Linked DNA regions of Homo sapiens: all the other regions are linked to region 3. Evidence: promoter capture Hi-C in human tissues and cell types (Jung and others, 2019). All regions are on one chromosome and are shown on one strand. Each heading gives the region's core, a stretch centred on a gene start or on the middle of the fragment in contact. The rest is flanking DNA. Distances are from core to core; before and after follow the strand shown.

Region 1 (2,849 bases), core at 135-2,634, 490 kb after region 3:
CTTCTCTGCCTCATAAACGGATCCAGAGAAGGCTGGTTGCCTTAAGCTCTTCCCTGCCTCGTGTTCCTGAGAAACGGATTAATAGCCCTTTATCCCCCTGCACCCTCCTGCAGGGGATGGCACTTTGAGCCCTCTGGAGCCCTCCCCTTGCTGAGCCTTACTCTCTTCAGACTTTCTGAATGTACAATGCCGTTGGTTGGGATTTGGGGACTGGAAGGGACCAAGGACACTGACCCCAAGCTGTCCTGCCTAGCGTCCAGCGTCTTCTAGGAGGGTGGGGTCTGCCTGTCCTGGTGTGGTTGGTTTGGCCCTGTTTGCTGTGACTACCCCCCCCCCTCCCCGAACCGAGGGACGGCTGCCTTTGTCTCTGCCTCAGATGCCACCTGCCCCGCCCATGCTCCCCATCAGCAGCATCCAGACTTTCAGGAAGGGCAGGGCCAGCCAGTCCAGAACCGCATCCCTCAGCAGGGACTGATAAGCCATCTCTCGGAGGGCCCCCTAATACCCAGTGGAGTCTGGTTCACACCCTGGGGGGTGTGTCACTGTGATGGGACACGTAGGAGTCCACCCTTAAAACCAGCACCCTGTCCCTCGAGGCTGCCGAGTGGGTGTGTGGACTGGGGTGCCTTCCCACAAAACTAGCCTCCGGCTCTGGGCCCGAGACAGCCGCAGGCCCCAGCCACTGAATGATACTGGCAGCGGCTGGGGTTTTATGAACTCCTTTCTGGTATTTTTTCCCCTCTATGTACAAATGTATATGTTACGTCTCAATTTTTGTGCTTAAGTAAAAATAAAAACATTTTCAGACAACACGGGTCCACATGTCTGGTGGACTTGGGAGGACGGGGCAGCCCACAGGATTAGGGGCTGGGCGCCGCTGCTAAGATTGGAGAGCGGGGACAGTTAAGATGCAATAAATAGGTCAAGGCCCTTCCTCAGAAAAGTGAAAAGCAGCTGGGAGGCCTGGGAAGCCAACGCGGCCTCTTCCAAAGGCGCCTTCTCGTGCCAGTAGCTCTCCTTTCAGAGCTGCGGGTCCTGGGGAGGGGCCCTGGGAGCCTCCCGGACGCCGTCGCCCCCACACACGCCCGCTCCGCCGCCCGCGCCCTCACGTGGGCGATCTCTAGACGCCTCTGCGCCCGCTAGGAGTCCCCGGAGACCACGCCGGCCGTCCTCCGTTGTTAACTTCTAGGCTCGCGGGGCCTCCGTATCCCCACGTGGGCCCTGCAGGAACTGGCGGGGCGCGTGACCCGGCGAGGCCCAGAGACAGGGGAGGGGCGCCGGGAGCCGGGCGGATCCGCGTCCCCGATGCGCGCTGCATTTCCGGCGGGCGGCGCTGGGGGCAGCGTGGAGCCACCCAGTGCTCGGCCCGCCCCGCAACCCGCCGGAACCGCCGCCCGCAGCGAGGAAGCGCCCGCGCGGGCGCAGGCGGCCGGAATGGCGGGGCCCGGCTGGGGTCCCCCGCGCCTGGACGGCTTCATCCTCACCGAGCGCCTGGGCAGCGGCACGTACGCCACGGTGTACAAGGCCTACGCCAAGGTGGGTGCCGGCCGATGGCCCCGTGCCCGCCCGAGCTAGCTCGGCTGGTGCCGGCCGGGGAGACTCTGAGAGGTTAGCGACAGTGTGGGAATAGTTAGGGGCGGGAGGCCGGCCTCGCCCCAGCTGACCCTCGGCGGAGGTTGGAGCCGACTGCCACGCTTAGGTCTTAAAGAGCGCACCTGCACCCACCTGCAGGGTCAGTGGCTGAAGAACAGGCTCAAAACAGGTTACCTGGTGGGCTGGGAGGAGTCTGGGACTGGAGCCAGTTGGGAGGCAGAGTGGGCGGTTCTAGAACCCTGAGTGACATGCCTCTGCCGGGAGCACTCCAGAATGCAAAGAAATGGATCAGCTAGCCGAGGGTTGGAGAAGACCAGGCTGAGGCTGTGTCGGGAAGCCAGGATTCCAGAATCAGCATTCCTCACTGGCCTCACAAGGGAAAGCTGGGAAGCCCGGTGCTGGTGTGCAGTAGGTAGACCCGGGGAGGGGCGGGGTGGGGGAACAGAGGGAACCAGATAGAGCCTTTCCAGTCAGACAAGGGTCCTGGCCCCCTCAAGGCAGAGTCCCCAAATCTCCTGTCTCGCAGAAGGACACTCGTGAAGTGGTAGCCATAAAGTGTGTAGCCAAGAAAAGTCTGAACAAGGCATCGGTGGAGAACCTCCTCACGGAGATTGAGATCCTCAAGGGCATTCGACATCCCCACATTGTGCAGCTGAAAGACTTTCAGGTGTGAGCCTGGGGCGGGGCCGCTGCCAAAGGGAGCTGGAGAAGGGACACTCTCTTCAGGCCGCCTCTCTGCCTCTAAACACAGTGGGACAGTGACAATATCTACCTCATCATGGAGTTTTGCGCAGGGGGCGACCTGTCTCGCTTCATCCATACCCGCAGGATTCTGCCTGAGAAGGTGGCGCGTGTCTTCATGCAGCAATTAGGTAAAGGCCTGTGACACCAGCCTGACACTCTGTCCCTTGTTCTCTGCCCCCCACCATCCCACCCCTCCCCCAGGCTTAGAGCCTTGGCACGCATTGCAGCTGCCTCCTGCACAGCCTGAAATTTTATGGTCCTGTTTATCTCATACACTCAACCCTTGCTCAAGGACGCTGTGGGAGAGATGAGGGGGTAACCCCTCTGTGGGGTGTTCAGGCTTCCATACATAGAACATAATATAAGGACCTTGTAGAACATTCCAGAGTCCTGTAGGTAGGACTCAAGTGCTGTGCCAAGGAAAAGAGCAGGATCTCAAGGGCTGGGGCATCCAGAGAAGCTTCTGAGAGGTGGGGAGACTTGTGAAGGGGCAGAGGGAAGGAGGGTGGGCA
Region 2 (2,701 bases), core at 1-2,500, 450 kb after region 3:
CACAGGGCAACTGAGTCCTGGGAAAGGCCTCCCAGGTCTGGATACAAATGTTCATGCCATCATGGACATACAGGGAGGCAGTAGACCCAGGCCCTTGTCCAGACTCGGCCTCTAGCCATCTATGAAGACTTGGACTAGTTATTTCCCTTCTTTAGATGTATCTTCTTTGTCTGTCCAAAGAGGAGAATGACATCTGCACTGTCAAGGTAGCAGAAAAACTATGACTCTTAAATGATTCTTTCAGGGGTTAACATACATCTTCCAGTTTCAGAAGCAGAGGCGAAAGCCTTCCTATGCTTTGGCTTTTTCTCCACTAAATAGGCAGGAGAAATATTTTAGGTTAATAAAAATGCAAAAAAATAGTCAAAGTAAAAAAACTTAATTGTCAAAGAGGGCTGAATTAAAATTCACTAAGTGCTAAGAGTGGTTGGGGGAAGGAGAGTGCTGGAAATCCCAGCCTATTATGACAAAACCTCTCTTCTTTTTGATAACACTATCTAGTCCATTAGCCTGAAGAGCCAAGTGGGTCTCCTCCCTCCTTGCTGCCTCACCCTTCCCAGCTGATTCTTATGACTTGCCTCAGGCCCTTTCTCCTGACCTGCGGGTAAAGTGGGCTGAAATACAGCCCGGGGCTCACCTCTGCATAAGGCTTGTCCTCTGCGATCTGGGCCAGTGGATCACTGCTGGCCAACAGCCGCGCCACTTCGCTGTTGGAACCCATCTTCCCCCAGGCATACTGCTGCACCGCACAGGAAAGTGGGAATACTAGGGGCACAGACAGGGTCAGCTGCCACTCCACTCCTCAGGCCCCACCCTAGTGTCCCGGGAAACCAGGCAAGAGCTGGGGGTGCTCACTGGGGACAGAGTCAAATAAGGGTTTTGTAGGCTGTTGGATGAGACCCCCCTCCGCTGCAGGCCTCGATGTTCCCAACTGTCAGATGGGCAGCAGTAAGGACCTTGTGCTGATCTGAGGCAGGGTGGCGGGGAGGGAGCAGAAGGTACCTATCCCACGGCACGACGTCTAGAAGGGCCCCCTCCCCTCGGAGGTCAATCCCCATCGCAGGTGGCCACACCTCTGCCCGGCACCCACCCATCTTTCCGCGGAATGCCAGGAGCGGACTCAACCTGGCCGATAATGCCGGGAGTCGTCCCCAGGACGCGCTCCACGAACACACTCGCCGACACCCCAGCCAATGGCTCACCTCGCGGAGCGGCCATGCTCGCCCCCTGCACCAGGATTAAGCACGTATGCCTTTCCCGGCAGCCCCCGCGGCCCTCTGCGCCCAGAGCTTCACGGGAAATGTAGTTCCCTGAGCGTTCCGCCAGGCCCCGGGGCACCCGTGCCCAGAGGCTTACGGCCGCGATCTTCGGTCTCACTATTCATTCATTCTTTCCATCGCCGGGCACAGATGTACTGAAAACCTGCTAAGTACCACGGACTGTTCTAAGGGCTGGAGGATACATCAGAGAGCAAGATAGCCTTCCCTCTGCCTTTGTAGAGCGCTTACATTCTGGTGAAGGCAAGACAGACAAGTATTGTAAGCAAATCATGTAGTATGTTGAAAGGTCAAGGCCACAAAAAGTAAGGGGGCAGGTGGCAGTGGGAGGCAGTTTGCAGAATATAAAAGGCTGTCTGGGCAAGCCTCTTGAGGAGGTGAGGTTTGAGTCCAGACTTGGCGGTGAGGAAGGCAGGAGTGTTCTGCGGGGAGGAAACAGCCACAGCGGAAGCCAGAGCAAGGCGGGAATGTGGGACTGTGCCGGGCGTGTTGGGGAGGGAACTGCTAGCAAGGAGGCCACTGTGGCTGGAGCAGAGTGAGTAAGACAGGGGCAGTGAGGAGGTCAGAGAAGAGAGGAGGGGGGCAGAGCTTTGCAGGCTATTGCTATTGTGAAGACTTTGGGTTTTACTTCGAGTCTCAGCAATTACAGATTTGAGCAAAGAATTGCTGTGATGTGAGTAGGGACATACTAGTGATGATGATGGTAAATGTCACATGCAAGGCCCTTCACTGCTCTGAGCTTTGTAGAATGGGGTGAATAATGCCAGCCTGACATGCTTGTTGGAGGGTCAGATGGGATGACGTGAGACACCTATAAGGCAGTCAGCTCCCTGTGCTCCTCTGATCCTTCCCGTCCCAGGTGCTGTAGAAAGTCAGAACCCCAACTTCTACTCCAGGCTGAGCTGCTTACAAGTTGCACACACAGAAGTCAGGGGAATTACGAAGAGCTGTGCATAGGGAAGGATGGCCTTGGGCCTTGGCTCTGCAGTAATCTTGGCTATATCCTGTGGTGAAAGGCTTTGACATCCAGACCTTCTCAGTCAACAGCCTCCTAGGAGGAGGACAGTCAGTGGCTCAGGCCTGTAATCCTAGCACCTTAGGAGGCAGAGGCAGAAGGATTGCTTGAGGCTAGGAGCACAACAGTCAAAGCTCCGGGGAACCTGGAATGAGGAGTTACAGTCCTGACTCTACCCTCATCACCCCTGCAATACCCTCATTCCCACAGCCTCTACCATATGTGCCCAGGGGAAAGAGCGGGTGCCGTTTTCCCTGTAATCCTCTGCCCAGGTGTGGGTATCTATCTCACCTCCCCTGGGGTCCTCTGGCTCAAATAAATCAGCTTGCATTTTAAAGGAAGCTTTACCATGCACTAAGGAATAATAAAATGGATAATACAAGACTCATGACAGCCCCCCGCCTGGCCA
Region 3 (2,700 bases), core at 151-2,650:
GTGCCACCACACTCGGCTAATTTTGTATTTTTAGTAGAGACAGAGTTTCACTATGTTAGCCAGGCTGGTCTTGAACTCCTGACCTCAAGTGATCCGTCCCCCTCAGCCTCCCAAAGTGCTGGGATTACAGGCGTGAGCCACGGCGCCTGGCCAGTGGCTTGCTATCCTTTAAGTGACACATCAGACCAGCCCTTCTTTTTTTAAAAAATAAAAAAATAAGACAGAGTCTCCCTCTGTTGCCCAGGCTGGAGTGCCATGGCCATGCTGGTCTCGAACTCCTGACCTCAGGTGATCCACCCTCTTCACTCTCCCAAAGTGCTAGGATTACAGGCATGAGCCACCGCACCCAGCCAGAACAGCCTTTCTTGATTATACTTCTTAAAATAGCCCCTCACACAAGGAAATTATGGAGGCCAGTGGATACGTTCATTATCTTGATTGTGGTGATCCAAGAGCCAGGAAGATTTGTTCTCTACTTGTCCAGCCTCATCTTTCCCTAACCTGCAGATGATACTCTCCCAGCTATGGGAAATGCATCCATTCCTGGGGAGCCATACTCTCTCTAACCTGAAGTCTCTGCACATGCTGTTCCCTGTCTGAAGACACACGTCTCCCACCCTTGCCTCCCTACCCCTGGTACACAAACTGTACTTCAGCCAGCCAGCTCCTGCCATCCATCCGCCTTTAAGTTTGATGGCATCCTTAGGAAGCCCCCTTAGCACTACACACAAGGCGCAGTTAGGTCTCTGCCCCTGGAGCCTTAGCTATGACTCCAATTCAAGCCTCCGATTTCCCCTTCCCTTGGCAGCTCAAGTCCTCCCAGTGCCTAGCACACTTCATGGTATAGACCAGGCGCTTAGAACGTACGGATGGATGGATTGGATGGATGGATGGATAAGTCTCAACCCCAAAACTACTACTTTCTGGCTCTGGAAAGAGCGGAGGGGCTTCCTAACAGTGTGGAAGAGTGAGCCTGATTCTAAGCACCTTCTTGTACAAGCCCCACGGCAGGGCTGGGGAAGGGGGTATCCTTGGGAGGTCCTCTTGGGGATGGGGAAGACCTGAAAGGACTCCCAGCTCCAGACAAGCCCTAGTTCCTGCCCCGGGAGGCAGGGGCCCTTCCTTCCGCCAGGGAAGCACCGGGACTCTAAGCCGGCCGGCCTGCTCTGTCTTACCCGCCCCGTACCCCCGCCCCCGTCTCGGGAGCGGGAGAGTGGTGGACTTTTCCCTACCAGACTCACAGCCCTCACGCCCGCACACACTGTGTTTGCGGAGAGGCCAGTACAACCTCCCCCAGTTTCCGGAGCCACTTGGCGCCCCCTCATTCCCGCTCCAGCAGCCCAAGCCTCGCTTCGCCCCTAGTGCCTCACCATCGCGCCAAGAAGCCAGGGCCCGGGAATTTCTTTTTCCGGTCCCGCAGGGTCAGCTGAGTCGACGATCACGTGACTTGGACTAACTGCCTCTGGGAGGGCGGGGCCTGCTCGAGTGAGGCCGGGAGCGGACCGCAGCCCGCTGGAGGTGCAGGGGGCGAAATGCTGGCGTCTCCTCCTCCGTCTCCCAGAATCCTTCCCTGGAAAAAACTGGCGCCAACCGCCAGTTTAACTGAGGACCGAATTAAGACATTAGGAAAGACAGTGGAAGTTATTTCATTTGTTTAACTTAAGGGGGTAGGATCCCGGGAGCCAGGGTGTTTCAGGTCATTGACACGTTTTCCACTGTTAAGCGAATAGCATTATTCACAGCTGCGGGCTGTGGCAAAAGACATTTTAAAAACTATTGACGTCTACTACACATACAGAAAATTGTACCTATTATAAAGCTTAATAAGTTTTCATCAACTGTACACCTCACATAACCAGCACCCAGGTAAGGAAATAAACCAGATAACTTCTTCAAGTGCATGGGTATTTTATTTCATTTTGATGAATCATCTAGGTGCCTAGCAAAAAGGGCTGTCATAATTACTTGCTCAGGAAAACTCCCTACAGCTTCAACATCAATAGATGCTTATCTTAATTTTTGCCAGTCTGATGGGGAAGAAAAATCGGTTGCTTAGGTTGCAGTGGTAGTCTGATTACTGGTAGCTCTGAGCTAATGGGTAGTCTAGAACAACTAAGTTTCCGACATTGACTTGAAGAGGCAAAAACAAAAAGACAAAACAACAAGAAAAATACATTTGAGAATAGACTAATAACCAGAGACAAAATTGAATACAGTCGTCCTTTGGTAACCTCAGGATGTTGGTTCCAGGACCCCAGAGATACCAAAATTCACAGATACTCAAGTCCCTGATATAATATGGCATAGTATTTGCAAATAACCTGTGCACATCCTTCCGTATACTTTAAATCATCTCTAGATTACTATAATACCTAATACAACGTAAATGCTTTGTAAATAGCTGTTATAAAGTTTTTTAATTTTTTTTTTTGAGACGGAGTCTTGCTCTGTTGCCCAGGCTGGAGTGCAGTGGCGCGATCTCCACTCGCTGCCAGCTCTGCCACCCGGGTTCACGCCATTCTCCTGCCTCAGCCTCCCGAGTAGCTGGGACTACAGGCGCCCGCCACTGCACCCGACCTGTGTTTTTTTATTGTTTTACTTTTTCCAAATATTTTCGATGCACAGTTGGTTAAATCCAAGGATCCAGAACCTCAGGATACAGAGGGCTGACTGTAGTTTGAGCTCTCTCCTCAATTCCAT
Region 4 (2,783 bases), core at 222-2,721, 280 kb before region 3:
GAAAATAATGTTATTGCTAATATATGACTCATTTACCCTTTAACTTCCTTTTGTCTCATGGAAACACTTGTGATTTTGCATTAAGTTAATTTTTTTTCAGGAATGTGGCCATCATATCATAACTGCATAACTGTCTGTATACAGGAGATGATATGAAATGAATGAACCATTTTCTTACGTTTTCCTTTGTAGGGAAGATGGAAGAGTTGAGTCAGGCCCTGGCTAGTAGCTTTTCTGTGTCTCAAGATCTGAACAGCACAGCTGCCCCACACCCCCGCCTATCCCAGTACAAGTCCAAGTACAGTTCCTTGGAGCAGAGTGAGCGCCGCCGGAGGTTACTGGAACTGCAGAAATCGTAAGGAAGCTTTAACTCCTTGTCTTCTTTCTCTGGGCTAGGAGCTATGAACCATTCCGAAGGCTCTAGGCTTGTCTCTACAGACTCTCCCTTCAAAGTAGACTCTTTGTAGGCTGATCTTCTTGCCCACAGGTTGGGAGGGGTAAATCCTGGCAGAGGTAGGTTTCTTTTATACCCAGAGCTTAGGAGAAGATGAGGAATTAGGGAGACACCGAAGTTTGAAACCAAAAGCTCAATTATTTGGTTAAGTTTTTCTTTTTTTCCTGGCAGCTGTACTGAGCTCTGTGGTTTAGGAACTTGCGAAAGCCACGCCCAGACTTTCACTCCCCACATTTCCTGGGATGCTTGTGTTTGGCTTCTGCACTCTGAATGCTGGTATTGGTGTGGTCTTCCCATCTGCCTTCAGCCCAAATGTTTCTGTGGCACTCTTGGGAGTTCAAGACAAATAATTCCTAAGGGAATCTGAGGAAATGTCTTCCATATACTTAATTCTAAGTGCCAAGATGTGCAAACAGGGAAAGAGGGCAGGATAAGAGTGTTTGAGGCTGAGCTACTCTGAAGGCAGGGCCGATCCTTGTATTCTCAATGCAGCATGGGCCTCTTCTGGGTCATAAATTAAGGAATTAGGGATCAGAAGAAACTACTAACAGCTGCATAGTTTCCATACAGTCTGCATTTTGCCCAGTGTTGCATCACTGGTTGTGTTTGGCAGAGATGGTTCCCTGTGGCTCTGGGTGGCTTGCAGAATACATTCCCAGATCATTCCTCTCCCCATTTTTAAAAATGTAGTTATCTTTGAATAGGTAATACATTTGTATGGTTGAAAATTTAAAATATACATAAGAGGCCGGGCATGGTGGCTGACGCCTGTAATCCCAGCACTTTGGGTGGCCGAGGTGGGTGGATCACCTGAGGTCAGGAGTTCGAGACTGGCCTGACCAACATGGCGAAAACTTGTCTCTACTAAAAATACAAAAATTAGCCCGACATGGTGGTGCGTGCCTGTAGTCCCAGCTACTCGGGAGGCTGAGACAGGAGAATCACTTGAACCCGGGAGGTGGAGGTTGCAGTGAGCCGAAATCGCGCCATTGCACTCCAGCCTGGGCAACACAGCTAGACTCTCTCAAATAAATAAATAAATAAATAAAATAAATAGAAGAGTATATGGTGAGGTCTTCCCATTTCTGTCCCCTAGCTATCCAGTTCCTCTCCTATATTATTAGTTTCTGGTGTATCCTTCCAAATATATATATATTTTAGACAGGGTGTCACTGTGTTGTTCGGGCTGGAGTGTGCAGATCCCGGCTCACTGCAGCCTCAACCTCTCAGGCTCAGGTGATCCTCCCACCTCAGCCTCTGAAGTAGGTGGGACTACAGGCACACTCCATAGCACCTGGCTAATTTTTTTATATTTTGTAGGAACAGGGTCTCCCTATATTGCTCAGGCTGATCTTGAACTCCTAGGCTCAACTGATCCTCCCACCTTGACCTCCCAAAGTGCTGGGATTTCAGACGTCAGCCACTACGCCTGGCCCTTCCGAAGATATTCTATACATATATGAGCAAGTGTGTGTGGTAGTATGTGTACAAAAGCTTTTTTTTTTTTTGACTCTATCTCCCAGGCTGAGTACTGTGGCATGATCTTGGCTCACTGCAACCTCAGCCCCTCAAGTAGCTGGGACCACTGGTGCAGGCCACCACACCCAGCTAATTTTTTTATTTTTGGTAGAAACACAATTTCACCATGTTGCCCAAGCTGGTCTTGAACTCCTGAGCTCAAGTGATCTGGCCAATTCACCCTCCCAGAGGGCTGGGATTACAGGCAGGAGCCACTGCACCTGGCTTTTTTTTTTTTTTTTTTTTTTTTTTTTAACACAAGTAGCAGTATACTATATACTGTTCTGCACATTTATTTAGTGGTGTTTTGGGGGAGAAATTCTATATCAGTTCATAAAGTACCACATCATTCCTTTTTCGTGGTGCTAGGTATTCCGTGGAATGGATACTTCATAATGCCATCAAGCCAGTCCCTCCTGATGGGCATCTGGGCAGTTTTCTTCTCTTGTGATTACAAACAATGTTCAGGAAATAACCACAGACAGACTTTCTTTCACACATGTACAAATATACCAGCTCTTTTATTCTCGAGATAAAAGACCATTGTGCTTTCATATGTTCTCTCTGGTGTGTGCCTTTTTATAATGAGCATGAACATGTATGTGTTTAAGAGAAACCAGCTGTGTTGGTTTCACTGCCTCAGTGGTTGAATTCCTGCCTTAGCATTGAAGAAATCAAATGTGGGAGGTTATGTGGTATTTCCAAATCACTTTGAAACAATTAGGTTCCAAAAGATTCTTTTTTTTTCTTTTCAGTTTCCCAAACTTTCTAGCATGTGTTGTTTTAAAACAAGATAACGATAAAGGGAAAC
Region 5 (2,910 bases), core at 97-2,596, 370 kb after region 3:
CCTGGGCAACTGAGCAAGACTCTGTCTCAAAAAAATAAAATAAAATAAAATAGGCCAGGCGCGGTGCTCACGCCTGTATTCCCAGCACTTTGGGAGGCCGAGGAGGGCAGATCACTTGAGGTCAGAAGTTTGAGACCAGCCTGGCCAACATGGGGAAACCCTGTCTCTACTAAAAGGCTGTGGTGGCATGTGCCTGTAATCCCAGCTACTAGGGAGGCTGTGGCAGAAGAATCAGTTGAACCCAGGAGGCAGAGGTTGCAGTGAGCCGAGATTGCACCACTGCACTCCAGCCTGGGTGACAAAGTGAGACTCCCTCTAAAAATAAAATAAAGAGATCTCATTAATCACCTGGTCTTCTTTTCTGGCTAATTTTTTTTATTATTATTAGTAGAGATGGGGGGTTTCGCCATGTTGGCCAGGCTGGTCTCGAACTCCTGACCTCAGGTGATCCGCCTGCCTTGGCCTCCCAAAGTGCTGGGATTACAAGTGTGAGTCACTGCACCCAGCCAATCACCTGGCCTTCTTCCCTTCAGGTTAGGAACTAGGCAGCTTTGGGATTCAGGCTGATGGGTGGAAACAATCCCAAAGTAGGATCACCTGAGGTCAAGAGGTCGAGACCAGCCTGGCCAACATGGTGAAACCTCGTCTCTACTAAAAATACAAAATTAGCCAGGCATGGTGGTGCACACCTATAGTCCCAGCTACTTGGGAGGCTGAGGCAGGAGAATCGCTTGAACCTGGGAGGCAGAGGTTTCAGTGAGCCAAGATCGCACCACCGCACTCCAGCCTGGGCAGCAAAGTGAGACTCTGTCTCAAAAAAAAAAAAAAAAAAAAAAAAAAAAAAAAAGCCCCTGCATTTCCAGGTGAATTCCCTGAAAGTTTCAAGTAGAAGTTGCAACCTTGGCCCAGAGCAGTGGCTCACGCCTGTAATCCCAACACTTTAAGAGACCGAGGCAGGAGTATTGCTTGAGCCCAGGAGTTCCAGACCAGCCTGGGCAACATAGTAAGACCCCATCCCTACAAAAAAAAAAAAAAAAAATCTAAAAATGAGGTGGGAGGATCACCTGAGCCTGAGAGGTTGAGTCTGCAATGAGCTGTGATAGTGCCACTGCACACCTGCCTGGGTGACAGCAGTGAGACCTTGTCTTAAAAAAAAAAAAAAAAAGTTGTGCTGGGCATGGTTACTCATGCCTGTAATCCCAACACTTTGGGAGGCTGAGGCGGGTGGATCACTTGAGGCCAGGAGTTTGTGACCAGACTGGTCAACATGGCAAAACCCCGTCTCTACAAACAAAACACAAAAATTAGTTGGGCATGGCCGGGCACGGTGGCTCACACCTGTAATCCCAGCACTTTGGGAGGCCGAGGCGGGCAAATCTCCTGAGGTCAGGAGTTCGAGACCAGCCTGGCCAACATGGTAAAACCCCTACTCTACTAAAAAAAAAAAAAATACAAAAAATACAAAAAATTAGCTGGTGTGGTGGTGGGCACTTGCAATCCCAGTTACTCGGGAGGCTGAGACAGGAGAATTGCTTGAACTCAGGAGGCAGAGTTTGCAGTGAGCCCTGATTGCTCCACTACACTCCAGCCTGGGCGTCACAGCAAGATTCTGTCTCAAAAAAATAAAATTTAAATTAAAAAAATAAAAGGAGGCTGGGTGTGGTGGCTCACGCCTGTAATCCCAGCACTTTGGGAGGCTGAGGCAGGTGGATCACAAGGTCAGGAGTTCAAGACTAGCCTGGCCAAGATGGTGAAACCCCGTCTCTACTAAAAAATATATATATACAAAAATTAGCCAGGCATGGTGGTGGGCGCCTGTAATCCTAGCTACTTGGGAGGCTGAGGCAGGGAATTGCTTGAACCCAGGAGATGGAAGTTGCAGTGAGCTGAGATCAGGTCACTGCACTCCAGGCTGGCGACAGAGAGATACTCTGTCTCAAAAAAAAAAAAAAAGGAAGTTGCAACCTTGGGCTAAACTGAGCTACAGATACGTTATTTAAAAGCATGAGCTAGGCCAGGCGCAGTGTCTCACGCCTGTAATCCCAGCACTTTGGGAGGCTGAGGCCAGCAGATCACAAGGTCAGGCGTTTGAGACCAGCCTGGCCAACATGATGAAACCCCATCTCTACTAAAAATACAAAAAAAAATTAGCCAGGCGTGGTGGCAGGCACCTGTAGTTCCAGCTACTCTGGAGGCTGAGGCAGGAGAATGGCGTGAACCCAGGAGGCGGAGCTTGCAGTGAGCCAAGACTCCACCACTGCACTCCAGCCTGGGCGACAGAGCGAGACTCCGTCTCAAAAAAAAAAAAAAAAAAAAAAAAAAAAAAAATTAGCCAGGCGTGGTGGCGGGCACCTGCAATCTCAGCTCCTTGGGAGGCTGAGGAAGAAGAATCGCTTGAACCTGGGAGGCGGAGGTTGCAGTGAGCCGAGATCGTGCCATTGCACTCCAACCTAGGCGACAGGGCGAGACTCCATCTCAAAAACAAAAAACAAAAACACATGAGTTAGTTCATGTGGTAGATTGTCTGCAGAGATGGCTGTCAACAGTTCCTCCCATTCCTGTATATACATGTCAGGCCTTTCACCAAGAGGTACAGTTTATTTCCTTATCCCTTGAATCTGGTCTAGACATGTATCTTGGTTTGACCAATGGAATGTAGAGGACATGATAATGTGTGACATCTAGGTCTAGGCCTTACAAAGCCTGACAGCTCCCATTTTCACTGTTTTGGGATCAAGCCACTCAAGAAAGAAGCTTAGGCTAGAGTCCATGAAAAGAGAGGCCCAGCCAACACCCCCAGCCTTCCAGCCACCCCAGCAGAGGCACTAGACTTATGAATGAAGCCATCTTGAGTGTTCTGACCTCTGTCAAGCTCCCAGCTGAATGAAGCCATGTGAGTGACCACAGCCA
Region 6 (2,700 bases), core at 2-2,501, 420 kb before region 3:
GGCCCTTTACAGAAAACGCTTGCTAACCCCTGCACTGATCCACCTAATGGAATACACTGCCCACTCCGTGAGTTGATCCTAGTAGGAAATGTTGCTGATAATTTAACAGCTGCTGCTTTTATGTTTTATTTTGTCCCTGCTCTGGTGGGAGACATGTAAGAAAATTCACTCCCTGGGAGGAGGTCATGGTGGGGCTTGTGGCCATCAACGGTGAAGCCTCTTTAAGAGGATGCGTGGGGAGCTCTACCATCTGCTGAGAGGGTTGTGAGGGGCCCTCTGTGTTGAGGAATGAAGAGGGAACGCTGCCTGTGTGCTGGGAGCTGGCTTTCTGGGGAGCAGAAGAGATGGTGGTTCGGGCCTGCGGAGGCAGAGGCCCAAACCAATCTGGTCTCTGGGGCTGCCGGCAGGGAGAGTAGTTGTGTAGGAGTGGGTGCAGGGGCAGAGCCTGAAGGAGGGCACCCCTGACTGCACCCCCAGGAGGCTGTGGTGGTGGGGGTGGGGCAGCACTGTAGGAGGACCAGCGCCTTCTGTGGCTGAGGGGTCCTTGGAGAGCAGCTCCAGGCAATGCGTAGCTGGAGGGGACTGATTTGACCCAGCGCTCTCCTAAGCCACAATGCCCGGCCTAATGTACTGTTTATTTAAAATTCTAAGGATCTTTAATAATTTTAATAAGGATCTTTAAATAATTTTCCATGGATCATATTTTTATTGCATTTTAAAATAATTTACAATTTGCTTTCACACATATTCTCCCTCATCTGATCCTCACAACTGCCCTGGGAAGGAGGTTGGAGACAGAGTTGGGGCCTGTTAGGAGACAAATTTACACAATGCATAAGAAAGCTCACTGTGAGCCGGGGTGAAGAAGGGAGGCTTGGAGAATCATGAATGCAGTATCTATGTCTATATTCCCAGCCCAACCACAAAGCCTGAAATTCATTTAGGTATTTAAGAAATAGCTGCTGAATTATTGCCTAGGGGTGCTCAGCTCAAGAAGCAGGGTTGAGACTAACAATCAAGCTTCCTGACTCCTAGCCCAATACTTTTCCAAACACACCACCTATTTTTCTGTATCGGATAGAAAGTATAGTGCTTAAGTTGTACATAATGTTAACTCACTTTCAATACAGGCCAATCATGATTGACTATCAGTAGCTTTTGTGACAAACTTAGTAAACTAGGAAGTTGAACCTTTCAGAGTTCCCCTTCTCATGTCATATGCTATTTCTGTTTTGAAATAAAAATCCTTCCAAATGAAACTTTATCCATCAAAATGACAAGAGAAGTGAAAATAGATACAAGAAGAAAATAAAACATTAATTTCAACATGGCTTTGTCTATTTTGCTTTAAAAGTATAACCACCAAGCCATTCTATTTTTAGGAAGACACATTCTTTTTGGAATGTTAAAAACTATGATAACTATTCTTAAGTCCTAAATGACCAGTATGGGTATTAGTAGATAACTGGACACAGTGCAAGGTCAGAAGGGTGACTGAGTGTGGCAGAAAGGGCAGTATCTCCAGCAACTGCAGATGGATAAATGACAATGAGTCCAGATAATGGATTATGATACAACCATTCAAATAATGCTTATGAGTACTTGATAACATAGGCAAAAGCTTAAGATACAATGTTTTAGACAGAAAAAAGGGAAGGTGGAAAAAAATAGATGGAAAGCATGACTTCAATCATGCATACTGATGCTTCCACTTTATTTTTATTTTTTGAGACAGGGTCCCACTCTGTTGCCCAGGCTGGAGTGCAGTGACATCATGATCTCGGCTCACTGCAGCCTCTACTTCCTGGGCTCAAGCAGTGCTCCCACCCTAGCCTCCTAACTACCTGGGACTACAGGCATGTGCCACCATGCCCAGCTAATTTTTTGTATTTTTAGTAGAGATGGGGTTTTGCCATGTTGCCCAGTCTGGTCTCAAACTCCTGAGCTCAAGGGATCTGCCTGCCTCGCCCTCCACAAGCCGGCCGGCCTGCTCTGTCTTACCCGCCCCCCCACTCCTGCCCCCCACTCCTGCCCCCGTCTCAGGAGCGGGATGGCGGTGGACTCTTCTCTACCAGACCTGCAGCCCTCACACCCGCACACACTGTGTTTGCGGAGAGGCCAGTGAAGACACCCTCCCCCCGTTTCCGGAGCCACTGTCGCCCCCTCATTCCCGCTCCAGCAGCCCATGCCTCGCTTCACCTCTGGTGCCTCACCATCAGGCCAAGAAGCCAGGGCCCGGGAATTTCTTTTTCCGGTGGCGCCAGGTCAACAGATTCGACGATCACGTGACTTGGACAAACGGCCTCTGGGAGGGCGGGGTCTGCTCGAGTGAGGCCGGAAGCGGACCACAGCCCGCAGGAGGTGCTGGAGGGCGAAATGCTGGCGTCTCCTCCTATGTCTTCCAGAATCCTTCCCTGGAAAAAAAGCAGCGCCCACCGCCAGTTTAACTGAGGACCGAATTAAGACATTAGGAAAGACAGTGGAAGTTATTTCATTTGTTTAACTTAAGGGGGTAGGATCCCGGGAGCCAGGGGGATTCAGGTCATTGCCATGTTTTCCACTGTTAAGCGAATAGCATTATACACAGCTGCGGGCTGCGGCAAAAGACATTTTAAAAACTATTGAAATCTACTACACATGCAGAAAATTGTACCTATTAGAAATATAAAGCTTAATAAGTGTTCATTAACTGTAGACCTC
Region 7 (2,700 bases), core at 129-2,628, 310 kb before region 3:
TGCCAGAACGGACGATCTCCACATAAGAGGCAGGAAAGAGCCCTGTCTCCCCACGGCTGTTCTGGCCCTGCAGCCAGCCATCCAGTGAGGTCTCGCTAAAGATGACCAGGTCCTCATCCTGCTGGATGCTGATTTCCTCCTTGTTCTCACTGTGAAAGTCATAGAGGGCTCGGCCTTTCAGTGCCATGGCTGGGCTGGGTGGTATAGAAAGATGGGAAGGAGAGGGTCCTGCCCAGACCGGGGATGCTCACAAGGCAGTCCAAGAATGCACTCGCAGCTGAATGGCGCTTACACAGTTCAATCTCTCAGGTCCTAAGGTGGGGTCTCAGCACCCACAGATGCTGTCCAGTCTCCCCCTCTTCAAAGCAATGTCCATGGCCCAGAAACTGCCCTATCAGGTCTCCGGGCATATGCTTGTGAGCAGGGAGGGCTCATGTCCACAGTCTCCTCCTCCCTTAGCAGCCTCTGGGGGGTTAGAGGGGAATCTCTCCTAACTCCTACTCCCAGAAGAAAAGTCAAGTGACCTGGAGAAATCTGCCCTGCGAGGGGAAAAATTCGACACTTTCCACTGGAACAACGTTCTAAAATAGAAGAGACTCACTCTGAAACCACCATTCCAGAAACCCGGGCAGGGCTCGGCTGTCCCTCTGGCTCCCAGATTCTTTTGGCGGCTCTCGCTTTGGGAGGCTCTCACATTCCTCTGCAGATCTGCCCCTTCCTCCTTCCTCCTCTTGCTCCTGGGCCACTGGGTTTTCAAAAATCCGGAAAATCCAAGAGGGGCAAGGAGAAAAGCAGCAGCCGCCTGAATCGAGTCCAAGGGTGGATGTGTCCGGCTTCACAACGAGCCAGGCCGGGAAAACAAGGACTGAGGCTTACACAACAGGCCGCCAACTCTTCGACCCCGGCTGCGCAGCCGGAGCCCCCGCCGGCTCGGGCGCCCTCTCCCCGCCCCAGAAGTGGCCAGCCCCAACCCCGGAGGAAGGAGGGGGCGCGACGAGGCTGTCGGGCGACTTCTAGCCACTCGCTGAGTGGTCTCTTTTGTTTGCCTAATTCCTCAGCAGTTTCTGAGCCTGACGCTGACCCTGCTCTGAATCCCAGGAACCCCGTCCAAAGGTAACCCCAGCAGAAACCGGTTCCTCACCCGGGACTTACGACCCCCGATCACCACCCTCGCGTGCACGCACACACTCAACAGTTTGGAGTTTGGAGAGTGAGCTCCGGCGAGCAGATGGCGCGGCCAGCCGTCTGTCCGTCCGTCCTCCTCTCCGCCCTGCGGGGCCCGGCCAGTGGGGGGCGGGCTGCGCCCCCAGCCTGCCTTCCCCGGCGCTCGCAGACCCTCCGCTCCGCCAGCGAGAAGGCAGCTCCAAAACAAAAAGGCGATTCCGGGAGGTGGCGTCCTGAGGAAGGAGGGGATCGCCAAAGGGGAGGTGAGGGGTGGGGAGAGGGAGGAGGGAGGGGGAAGCAGGCTGGAGAATCGGGCAAACTCCGCTGCACTTCCGTGCGTCCCGGCGGGGCAGGGACGGCCAGCTCCGCCCTCCCGCGGGCCCGGGGCGCTGCAGCCGAGCCCCCGCCTACTCCTCCGCGCGGCTTCCCAGCTGGCCAGCGCCCTCGCTCGCTGGCGCTCAGTCCGGGAGGCGAGAGGGAGGAAACGACCCGGGAACGAGGGGGCCCGAGAGCCTCCGGGGCTGGTCCCTGGGACCGCCACCTCCCCTCCTCTCCCTCCGCCTGTCCGCCCTCGCCGGGAGACACCTCACGCCCCCGTGGTTGGAGCGCCCGGCGGGGGAGCTTGCCAGCTGCCGCTGCCTCGCTTCCTGGACTCCGTCATCCTCCTGCCTTTTCCGTGACGCAAATGGAGTAAAACTCCGAAAGTTTGCAAAGCGTGGGGCTGCAAGGAGCACCGCGCCAGAGCCAGGATCGGGAGATCGGGGTGGGGGGAGGGGGGTGCGTGGAAAGCCGCCGCGCCAGCTGGGGTTGGGGAGCAGAGTCGCGGACTCGCCTTCCCACCTTCCCATTCCCCACTCCTGCTCCGCAGGGACGGGTCGTGGCGCAGCTCAGAGATTGTTTTCCGGAGGAACAGAAACGGCCTGCGCGTTCCAGGCGTCTGACCTAAGATACCGAGAGCTGCGGGTGCAGCACCCTAGCCAGACAGGGCGACCCTGCCCTGGGCGACTAGCTTGGAAGGAGGGAAAGACACTACTCTACATCTGCAGCGACAGGGAACAAGTCTAGGTGCCACCCGGTTCCGTGTTGCTTAGTACAGCAGCGGGGACTGGATGTTCTGTGCTAGCCAGCGGCAGCAAGGAGAGAAGTGGTCAGGTAGAGAATCTTCGAGAAGAGGCAAGTGGGATCTGACCCTCGGTCAGCATATCGGGAACACTTTGGGCATTGATTCTGCTAGGCACTGTGCTGGGCACTGGGGAGTAGTACACCACAAGGCAGTCGGGGTTTCTATCCTGGGGGGCTTACAGTCCACCCTCTCTTGTCTTTAATCAATCCATTCTGTCTCAGTCATTCATTCAGCCAAGTCATGCACTCAAGAAACATTAACTGAGTACCTACTCTGCACCAGGCCCCTGAGCTACAAAGACAAATAAGACATTATCCTTATTTTCCAAAAGCTCAGATATGTTGTGACAAGTAGACAAATGCTCCCTGCCCAGTGTGACTAGTTAGTGCCATGAAAAGTGCACATGAGGGTAC

Evidence for each region. Contacts are between HindIII fragments. The study calls those that stand out against the background at their distance.
Region 1: the fragment with the promoter of ULK3 here is called in contact with the fragment with the promoter of COMMD4 in region 3 in 3 of the 25 tissues and cell types used here (dorsolateral prefrontal cortex, lymphoblastoid cells and pancreas).
Region 2: the fragment with the promoter of MPI here is called in contact with the fragment with the promoter of COMMD4 in region 3 in 1 of the 25 tissues and cell types used here (heart right ventricle).
Region 4: a contact is called between a fragment that was not itself captured here and the fragment with the promoter of COMMD4 in region 3, in 1 of the 25 tissues and cell types used here (lymphoblastoid cells).
Region 5: a contact is called between a fragment that was not itself captured here and the fragment with the promoter of COMMD4 in region 3, in 3 of the 25 tissues and cell types used here (adrenal gland, lymphoblastoid cells and stomach).
Region 6: a contact is called between a fragment that was not itself captured here and the fragment with the promoter of COMMD4 in region 3, in 2 of the 25 tissues and cell types used here (lymphoblastoid cells and spleen).
Region 7: a contact is called between the fragment with the promoter of SNX33 here and the fragment with the promoter of COMMD4 in region 3, in 2 of the 25 tissues and cell types used here (lymphoblastoid cells and spleen).

What each region holds. Positions count from the first base shown.
Region 1 is chr15:74,841,691-74,844,539 of GRCh38, reverse strand. ULK3 (unc-51 like kinase 3) reads left to right here and starts at 1,384. Exons shown (of 16, transcript NM_001099436.4): 1 at 1,384-1,536; 2 at 2,120-2,260; 3 at 2,345-2,465. The coding sequence starts at 1,435. It overlaps SCAMP2 (secretory carrier membrane protein 2), which reads left to right. Exons shown (of 9, transcript NM_005697.5): 9 at 1-810. RefSeq lists a silencer at 903-1,622 and enhancers at 885-1,796, 1,865-2,390. The HindIII fragment of the contact is 11,414 bases long and covers 1-2,849 here.
Region 2 is chr15:74,888,591-74,891,291 of GRCh38, reverse strand. MPI (mannose phosphate isomerase) reads right to left here and starts at 1,250. Exons shown (of 8, transcript NM_002435.3): 1 at 1,203-1,250; 2 at 638-765. The coding sequence starts at 1,218. RefSeq lists enhancers at 924-1,003, 801-1,334, 1,124-1,423, 1,584-1,633. The HindIII fragment of the contact is 15,781 bases long and covers 1-2,701 here.
Region 3 is chr15:75,334,763-75,337,462 of GRCh38, reverse strand. COMMD4 (COMM domain containing 4) reads right to left here and starts at 1,400. Exons shown (of 8, transcript NM_017828.5): 1 at 1,371-1,400. The coding sequence starts at 1,373. RefSeq lists enhancers at 1,007-1,176, 1,517-1,566. The HindIII fragment of the contact is 27,503 bases long and covers 1-2,700 here.
Region 4 is chr15:75,618,466-75,621,248 of GRCh38, reverse strand. It overlaps SNUPN (snurportin 1), which reads left to right. Exons shown (of 9, transcript NM_005701.4): 2 at 193-355. The coding sequence starts at 198. Among named protein-coding and RNA genes, the nearest start is that of SNUPN, 5.9 kb to the left of the region's middle. The HindIII fragment of the contact is 5,240 bases long and covers 1-2,783 here.
Region 5 is chr15:74,967,562-74,970,471 of GRCh38, reverse strand. No RefSeq gene overlaps it. Among named protein-coding and RNA genes, the nearest start is that of RPP25, 12 kb to the right of the region's middle. The HindIII fragment of the contact is 5,742 bases long and covers 1-2,910 here.
Region 6 is chr15:75,758,127-75,760,826 of GRCh38, reverse strand. It overlaps LOC101929408 (a long non-coding RNA gene), which reads right to left and starts at 2,285. Exons shown (of 4, transcript XR_932487.3): 1 at 2,200-2,285. The HindIII fragment of the contact is 5,413 bases long and covers 1-2,700 here.
Region 7 is chr15:75,646,590-75,649,289 of GRCh38, reverse strand. SNX33 (sorting nexin 33) reads right to left here and starts at 1,378. Exons shown (of 2, transcript NM_153271.2): 1 at 1-1,378. The coding sequence starts at 187. RefSeq lists an enhancer at 903-1,594 and a silencer at 1,220-1,759. The HindIII fragment of the contact is 33,754 bases long and covers 1-2,700 here.